Linked DNA regions of Homo sapiens: regions 1 and 2 are each linked to region 3. Evidence: promoter capture Hi-C in 16 types of primary human blood cells and fetal thymus (Javierre and others, 2016). All regions are on one chromosome and are shown on one strand. The core of a region is centred on a gene start or on the middle of the fragment in contact, and the rest is flanking DNA. Distances in the headings are between cores, read along the strand shown. Region 1 has its middle 41 kb from the start of LMX1A. Region 2 has its middle 12 kb from the start of LMX1A. Region 3 holds the start of UCK2 (uridine-cytidine kinase 2).

Evidence for each region. The method cuts DNA at HindIII sites, captures the fragments that hold promoters and counts their contacts. A CHiCAGO score of 5 or more calls a contact.
Region 1: a contact is called between a fragment that was not itself captured here and the fragment with the promoter of UCK2 in region 3, in 3 of 17 cell types (activated CD4 T cells, naive CD8 T cells and total CD4 T cells). The highest score is 7.5, in activated CD4 T cells.
Region 2: a contact is called between a fragment that was not itself captured here and the fragment with the promoter of UCK2 in region 3, in 2 of 17 cell types (total B cells and naive CD8 T cells). The highest score is 5.8, in total B cells.

Annotation. Positions count from the first base shown.
Region 1 is chr1:165,395,983-165,398,704 of GRCh38, forward strand. No RefSeq gene overlaps it. Among named protein-coding and RNA genes, the nearest start is that of LMX1A, 41 kb to the left of the region's middle. The HindIII fragment of the contact is 2,969 bases long and covers 1-2,722 here.
Region 2 is chr1:165,367,181-165,369,919 of GRCh38, forward strand. No RefSeq gene overlaps it. Among named protein-coding and RNA genes, the nearest start is that of LMX1A, 12 kb to the left of the region's middle. The HindIII fragment of the contact is 1,627 bases long and covers 553-2,179 here.
Region 3 is chr1:165,826,255-165,828,954 of GRCh38, forward strand. UCK2 (uridine-cytidine kinase 2) reads left to right here and starts at 1,360. Exons shown (of 7, transcript NM_012474.5): 1 at 1,360-1,678. The coding sequence starts at 1,580. RefSeq lists silencers at 1,149-1,398, 1,479-1,958, 2,019-2,248 and an enhancer at 1,714-2,267. The HindIII fragment of the contact is 2,018 bases long and covers 1,076-2,700 here.

The DNA.
Region 1 (2,722 bases), core at 61-2,560, 430 kb before region 3:
CTTCCTTTTTTGGGTCTTCCTTCACTCTCTACCAGGGAATTGGGCCCTGGAGAAAGGATGAGAAGAGAGAGAAGTGCTCTTAAGTACGTGGTGCTGTTGATGCCTTCCATGTGGCAAGTATCAACAGGTGGGTCTTCTTAGTGCACATGGTGAGCTTTCAGGAGGCCCCATGGGGAACTCTGTGCTGCGAGCTAATAGGTATGGGCAGCGAATGCTCTGCTTGACCCCTTAGTTCCTGCCCACAGCAGTTCAACCCACAGCCTCCTACTGCGGGAGTCCCCTTGCCTTGAGAGGCCACTCTGTTGGTTTGGTACCTTCGGGATATTCTAAACACAACTTTTTTCCAGGGAATTCACTTGGCCCACAGAAAATGCCATATCCTGGACAAACGAAGTACAGGGAGGGGAGCGGTGGGATACAGTGCTCTCCCTTTCCTTCCCCACTTACACCCTCACAATGGGCCCCTGTCCTCAGAGGTCTCTATCAAGAAGAGACATCCATCTCGATGCTCACGGTAGCTCAGGCCCCTCCCAGCTCTCCCTCCCCACCCTCTGTGGCAAGGTGGGGCAGTGGGTTTCTGCTGCTAGGCAAGCATCAGCCAGGATGCCAGGTGCCAGCCTCCCCATTGTGTAGGTACCCACGCCCACTCAATAAGTGGCTCTTTTCTGCCCCCTTCATTTGCCACGGGAATGGGGATCCCTCCCTCTCGCTGTATACCCTGAAGGGGTAGGGTAAAGCCATGACTCTACTCCCCAAATACTCCTTATTCTACGGACTTCTCTCCTTAAATTCCAATCTTCTATGAACATTGGCTCAAGAAGAGGAATAAGTCACAGAACCAGCTCATCTACCTTCATAAGTCCTTAGAACATGAGGGGACCTCATGGCCTCACCTTGGGGCTTTAGCCAAAATTCCAAAACGACAGGAAGATACTCTTTGGTATTTTATTCCATTAGTGACACTTTGTAGCAGAGTTTCACCATCTCAGTACTTGTGACATTTTGGGCCAGATAATTCTTTGCTGTGGGGCCATCCTGTGCATTATAGATGCTTAGCAGCATCCCCAGCCTCCATCTAGCAGAACTCCCCTTGTCATGACCATCAAAAGTGTCTTCAGATATTGCCAAATGTCCCTGGGGGTGGGGAGGGACACGCTTGTTCCCTGGTGAGACTTTTTTTTTTTTTTTTTTTAGACCAAGTTTTACTCTTGTCACCCAGGCTGTAGTGCAATGGCGTGATCTCAGCTAACTGCAACCTCTGCCTCAAGCGATTCTCCTGCCTCAGCCTCCCAAATAGCTGGGATTACAGGTGCCTGCCACCACGCCCAGCTAATTTTTGTATTTTTAGAAGAGACGGGGTTTCACCATGTTGGCCAGGTTGGTCTTGAACTCCTGACCTCAGGTGGTCCGCCCGCCTCTGCCTCCCAAAGTGCCGGGATTACAGGTGTGAGCCATCATGCCTGGCCTGAGACTGCTTAATAGACTAAAGGAAGGCATTGAAAGTTTTTGAACAAGAAAGCAGTATAAAATTATAAACAAATATTTGGTTGATTTCACTAAAGGATATGAAAAAAATGGCCAAGGCCAAGAAATACTTACTGTGCAAATGACATCTTTTTCACAGTCTTTAATAGTGTACAAAGTACTGTCATTAAATTATCTCCCTTAACTTTCACACCAACCATGTGAGGAAGGGTGGGCCCACACTGCACGGGTGAGTTGTCAGCGTGGAGGATGGGGGCTAAGGTGCGGAGAGCTCTCAGGTTAGGTAGGGTGTGGAGAAGGAGTTAGGTGTAGGGCGGGGCTTTTCCATGGAGTCTGGACTTTCTTTCCAGAGCAGGAATCCTGTAGAAGATATTTGGATGAATAATAATAATAATAATGGTGTACTAAAATTAACTGAGAGCTCACTACGTGCTGGACATAGCCCTGTGTATGGTTCGTAGATCATCTCATCTGCTTCTCTCAACAGGCCCCTGTGGATAGGTACTATTATTTTTCACAGTTTACAAGGTAGAGAACTAAGGTCTAAAAGGTTAAATCACTTTCCCAGGGTTATTCAGTGATCAGATGGGATTTTAATTGAGGCCGGCTGGGCTGACTCCGAGCCTGTGTTTGTAACCATGGCCCCTTCCTGCTTGCATTTCCTCCAATCTGACTCATAGGCAGGCTCCACAGTCATCAGAGCCCTGCACTCGCTTGGTCCCTGCAGCTCACCCAGGCTTTCCTGTTATCAGCACTGTTTGTTAGCAAAATGGGTTGGTTCATTGCCATTTGCCTGCTGAAAAGCGTTAAACCAAAACTAGAAACTAGAAATTGTTTGTCCCTTTTACAGTATGTTGGATGATCCAAGGCAGGCTGTGGAATAGAATGTTCTGGCAATCTCCTCGAAACTCCAAGATTGTGTTTTAATTGCAATCTCAATCTTCAGCAGAAAATAAATTAATATTTTTGCCCATCTTCCGTGCCAGTCACAGCACTAAGAGCATTAGCTTATGTAATCCTCACAAGAATCCCATTTTACAGATTCGGTGATTGAGGCTCAGCGAGGTTTAAGTCCATCATGAATGACAAAGTCAGGACTCAGAACCCAAGTATGTCTTATGTACATTCTCTTACACTAGGCTTTATGCATCTTTCATCTTTTTATCCTTATAAGATGTGTATTATTATCTGACCTTTACAAATAAGAGAAGGAAATAAAAGGCAGAGAGGGTGAGTA
Region 2 (2,739 bases), core at 116-2,615, 460 kb before region 3:
ACAGCAACACAGTCGAATAGTTGGAATTGCAAAGTCGAAAGCCTAAAATATTTGCTCTCTGGCCCTTCACAGAAAAAGCTTGCCAAACCCTGTTCTAAAAGATACTATAAGACCCAAAGTAGATGTCCAGATGAAACAGATGCATCTCTTTCAGCTTTAGGTGTCTGTACCCGGCCAAATAGGATCTCAGTGCTGAGACTTTTGTTCTTCTTGAAGAAAAGCATCGCCACCATGAACCAATGCTGAGAGATTCCTCATTTGCATCAGAAGGTCAAGCTAACCTTTCTCAGCTACTCATTCTTGGAGTTCAAGATGGGCAGGTGTAGTGGGCCAGCCAACCACCTCTGCACCCTGCAAGTCCCATTACCCTCCTGCAGAACCACAGTTGTCCACAAGAGGGCAGTAGCTCTCCTGTTTGCAGTTCTCTGGTGGCCTTCCCAGCTTTGGAGGGCGGCCAGCCCACCTGAGCGCTTTGCTAGCTGAGCCTCCATAGAACTTTCTCTAGCTGGATGGTCAGGAATGGGGCCATCTTACTCTGCAGAAACCTATATAAGCTTTCTGAGACCCGGCAGATAGTCCAACATCTTGGTGGCTTATCGTCAAATCTGTTATTCTTGAAGTGTCAGGAATTTTTTAAAAGAAAGGAAAAGAAATTCTAGTTTCATTCTCTTCTTGCCAACTCCCAAATCCTCTTTTGCTATATTCCAGCCCAGCACACTGTCCCAGTTTTTCAGCTGTTGTGTCTCAGCTCTAACCCCATTCTTCTCTATCCTGCCTTGCAACGCTGAAGCCGGGACCCTGCAAACCCCCTCTCTGCTTTGCCAGGTGGCTCATGGTAGGCTCCGCTAGGTTAGGGTGGAGGAAGGATGCATTTACTTACTAGAAGTTTGCTTGTTTGGACTTCCTTACTTCTACCTGTTGTTCTGAGCAACACCTAGAAATGCTTCTTCATCCCAGTGGTAGCATCCCACTGACAGCAGCTGAAGCCAGCTGGCATCTTCCCCAACTCATGCAGAGCTAGCTCCACCATGCCCACCTCAAAGACACTCACACCAGCTGCCTGTGCCCCGTCCTCAGAGGTCTGTGTCCTGAGTCCACTAGGCATCTCCTCCAAGGCTCTAATTTTTATCATTCCAACTTCTTCCTTCTCCTGTAGCTCCACTCTGCCCCAACAGCCCTATGGGTGGTAGGCCCTTTGCAATTGCTCCATTTATGGTAACCTAGTGTTCTCTTCCTGCATTTTCAGTTATGACTAGTTATCTATTCCTTATATTAAATTTTCTCTAATCAAGCAACTGGGGGTGGCTTTTGTTTCCTAACTGAACTCTGACTGATAGATACTTTTTGTCAGGACTAAAACTAATGAGAGATTTGATTGTGATCGTTGGGTCAGAGATCCTCCACCTGAAAAATTAAGTCCACAAATGCCCACTGTGCATCTACACGTGAAAGGCACTGTCTTGAAGCTGAGAAATGGGCACTGCTGATCAACTCGGGTCCCCTACTCCTGACCCTTACTCCGAGGTCTAACCCTGGTTCTTTGCCTTGTCCTGCAAGGCAGCTCCGTGACTGGTGCTTTGGAATGGTAAACAATGCAGGCCGACTGGCTGCCTCCCTCCCCAACATGTGTTCTTCCTTGTTCCTCTGGCCAACTGTCACCTAGCCGCCCCCCCGACAAGTCCCACCATCCAGACAAAGGAACGCAGAAAAATAGAAGTATAATATCTCCTGCCCCACAATGGCCTGGCATGAGAGTCAGTCTCATAGATCTCATCGAAAGGCAGACATCCCTCACTCTCAAGCATGATTCTTTCTAGACAGCACCTTACCTGGGGAGAGAAGAAAGACGCCACCTTGGGCACAGAGAAGTGGGCGCAGAACTTATCTCTGCGACAGCTTAGCTCGACTAAAAATGCCCAGCAGCAGATTTGGATCTGCACAAGGGAAAGAGCACGACGAGAGGGCAGGCAGGGGCTGAAGAGGGAGAAAAGGAGGCCGATGTGTCTCTGCTAAAAACAAAGCTGGACTCTTTGCAGACCAGCAACTCCCGTCAAAGCCCTCTCTTCAGGAGCCACTGAAATGAATCGTGCTGGTTATAGCATTTAAAAACAGAGCCTCCTCAGTCATCATCACTGGAAAATACAGACTCAACCAAATTATCTGGGATTCCTTTTAATGAAGCTTTGCCCCTCTTTTCCCAGAATGCCCCCACCAACGCTCCAGCGGCACTGGGCATTGCTGTGAACTTGAGCGCACCCTGCTGGCAAGTGGCTGCAAAGACACAAGGACCGTCTTCCCTGCCACATCTTCATGCCACATGTGTGCACAGCAGCTTTGAACTTGAAAGTTGTTTTACCCAAACTTTTGTTCTCTTTCCACACTTTTGTGGTGTTAAACAGATTTCAGCATCCTCATCTCCATCTTCTTTCTGGTTTTTCTATCCAGTTCTTTCTCCACGTGGCCCCTGCCCTGCTGGACCCCACCACAGTCCCCTTTTTGTTTCAAGACTATCTGCTTAACCCAACCAAGTCTTGGCTCCTCAAACGACCACGAGCAGCTCTTGGATTATGGACAATTGGAGGGGTGGGAGTTGGGGCAGGGATGGGCAAGGGGAAGAGATTCTCTCTTAACCCTCGGGCTTTCTGGATTTAGAGGCCTAGAAGAAGAGAACCAACCATAGGGAACTGCGCACAGAAATTACATTGAGAAAACCATCCCAGACCCACTCTTCCAGCTGAC
Region 3 (2,700 bases), core at 110-2,609:
TTTAAAAGTGAAAAAAGTTTGTTTTCTCTGGTATCCTTTTTTTTGTTTTGTTTTGTTTTTGTTTTTGTTTTTTGACACAGGCTCTGGCTCTGCTGACCAGGCTGGAGTGCAGTGGGGAGATCATGGCTCACTGCAGCCTCGATTTCCCTGGCTTGAGAGAAAATTATTTTTTTCAAAATAATCTTCAATTTAAGGTAATTTACTAAGTTTCAAAAGATAATGCTATTGACGTAAATTCTGTTTTAGATTGTAGGCCCCATCAGCTCATTGATACTAGTCCCAAGTTCACAGGAGAAGAGACTGGAAGTTACTAGGCTAGTCCTGCCTCTCTCAGGTGTGTCCCAGCAAAACTTTTCTTTCCAGTTTCAGCGCTTTAGAAACCTTTTCTCTTCAAACACTAATACAGGGCCTAGACTGTACCAGCACTGTTCTGAGAACTTTACATACACTAATTCATTTAATTCTCACAAAAATCCTGGGATGTAATTGCCATTATTATTCCCATTTAACAGATAAGAACACTGAAGCACAGAGAGATTAAGTAACTTGCTCAGGGACCTGGATGTGAATGCAGAAATCTGGCTCCAGAGGTGGAGTCTGAAACTGCCTTTCTAAGTGACTGATTGCCAATCTCTGGAAAACCGTTCAATTGAAGATATTAATGGATCAAAATGTCAGTATGTTTTCAGATACCCTAACTCCATAGGAAGCTCAGTGTATGGGATGAGATACTGTGGTTTAGAAGGGAATTGCTTTTCCAACGGAGGGCACCCTTCAGATAAGCCCCTCAAATTGCCCTTCACTAGAGAGTCGCACGAGGACAGGCCTGCTAAAAAGGATGGCGCTGGGGGGTTTCCAAGACAGGAAATATCTAAAGCCAGCGGCTGACATATTATCTTGGCGAACGGGAGAAGGGAAAAAGAACCCTCATTTTTTGGAAACACAAGTTTTTAGCCTGGATAATGGGTAAATGACATTAACTCTTCGTTCCACACTAATCTTTCAAGCTTGTTCAAATTTTGCTTCTCAAACCTGGGCCATTCCTTCTTATCTAATCTGCCTATTATTTCCTTCAAGCTTTTTATCCCTTCTGAAAATAGGTGGTAGCATACCAAATTAAAATACAGAACAGCCTGTTTCTTTCCCCCAGGGTCCACTAGGGCGCGTCGGAGAAAGGGTTAACCGGGCGGGTGGGAGGGAAGGTCGGGCTCACACCTTTCGCAGAGACCTCGGGCGGCGGCGGGGCCCGGGAGGGGCGGAGGCTGGGGCCAGACGCCTCGCCGCCTCCGCCTCGGCGAATAGCAGCGCGCTGCCCGCCCGGATTGGAGCAGCAGCATCACGCTGACCTCTGCCTGGGATGTAAACCGGACCAGCCGCTGCGGGCAAAGGAAGGCTCTTGGCTCCTTCGGGAAACCCAGCCCCGTCACCGGGCTCCGAGCGGCTCGCAGGCGAGCGACAGCGGCCTCAGCCCCGGCAGCGCCCAGCGGCGGCTGCGGAAAGCGGAGGGAGTCCGACGCGGGCGCGGGCGGGGAGCGTGCGTCCGTTCGCACAGGCAGCGGGAGGAGGGGCGGCGCGAACCATGGCCGGGGACAGCGAGCAGACCCTGCAGAACCACCAGCAGCCCAACGGCGGCGAGCCCTTCCTTATAGGCGTCAGCGGGGGAACAGCTAGCGGCAAGGTACGGCGGGGCCCGGAGCCGCGCTCCCTTCCCGGCTTCTGTCCCTGGGCGGCGCATGTGGCCGGCGGCCGCGGGCCGTGTCAGTTGCGGCAGCCACCGCGTGGCCCGCGCGCCTCCGCTCCCGGCCGCGCTCCAGCGCCGAGTGCGCCCCGCGCGGCCTGGGGGCGCTGCGGCGGGGGCAGGCGAAGACTCGGGCCTTGGGGGTTCCGGGGGTACGCGGCCACGATCGCAGGGCGGGAGTGCTCCTCCGGCTTTTCTCCCCCCGCGTTAATAACTCGTGGCCGGGGTCCTATGGGGGAAGGGCAGGGAAGCGGATGCTTATTGTTTTGCAACTCCAGTGTCGGGGGAGAGGGCTTTCCGCAGGATCCCCCACTAACCCCCGATGGACTCCCTCAAGCCCCGGTCTGGCACAGACGTGCTCGCCCCGCGGCGCAGCCTGGTGCCGAGGGCGGAGCGAGCCGGGAAGCGCGGCCGAGAGGGCGAGGGTGGCGGGAACGCGCGAGGCGGCATCCCGGGGAAGGGGAGCCCAGTGTGGGGCTGCACGCAAGGGCTGGGGATTACAGGGGTTTCCGGGTAAAAGTCTGAGAGCCAAATAGGTGCCGTGACATCAATGAAACGATAATAGTAGGGGCTTCTGTTTTTTAAGGTTATAAGAGGAAACGTGGTCGGCTTCAATGAGAAAGTTGTACTGGCTCCAAGCTCTTCGGTGTCCAGGACGTACGCGTCTTGGATCCACGGAAGGGGGTCATCGTATGGGTGTCTGACCCTCTTAGGAGCCTGTTTCCTTTGTTTTATCCGCAAGGCAAGGAGAGACAAGGGAAATGACTTCCTAGCTTTACCCGGGGTTTTTTCTGCAGGTGGAGAAGGGTGGAGTCCTCCCAGATGGTTCTTTCTTTGCTCCCCTAACAGCCTTTAAGATGTGGCTACTTGTTTTTCCCACCGTTTAACACCCTCCAACTTCATTTGGAGCACGGGTTCCTCAAGGGATCCTGAGAGCTGGGTGCTGGGTGCTGGTTTGGAGA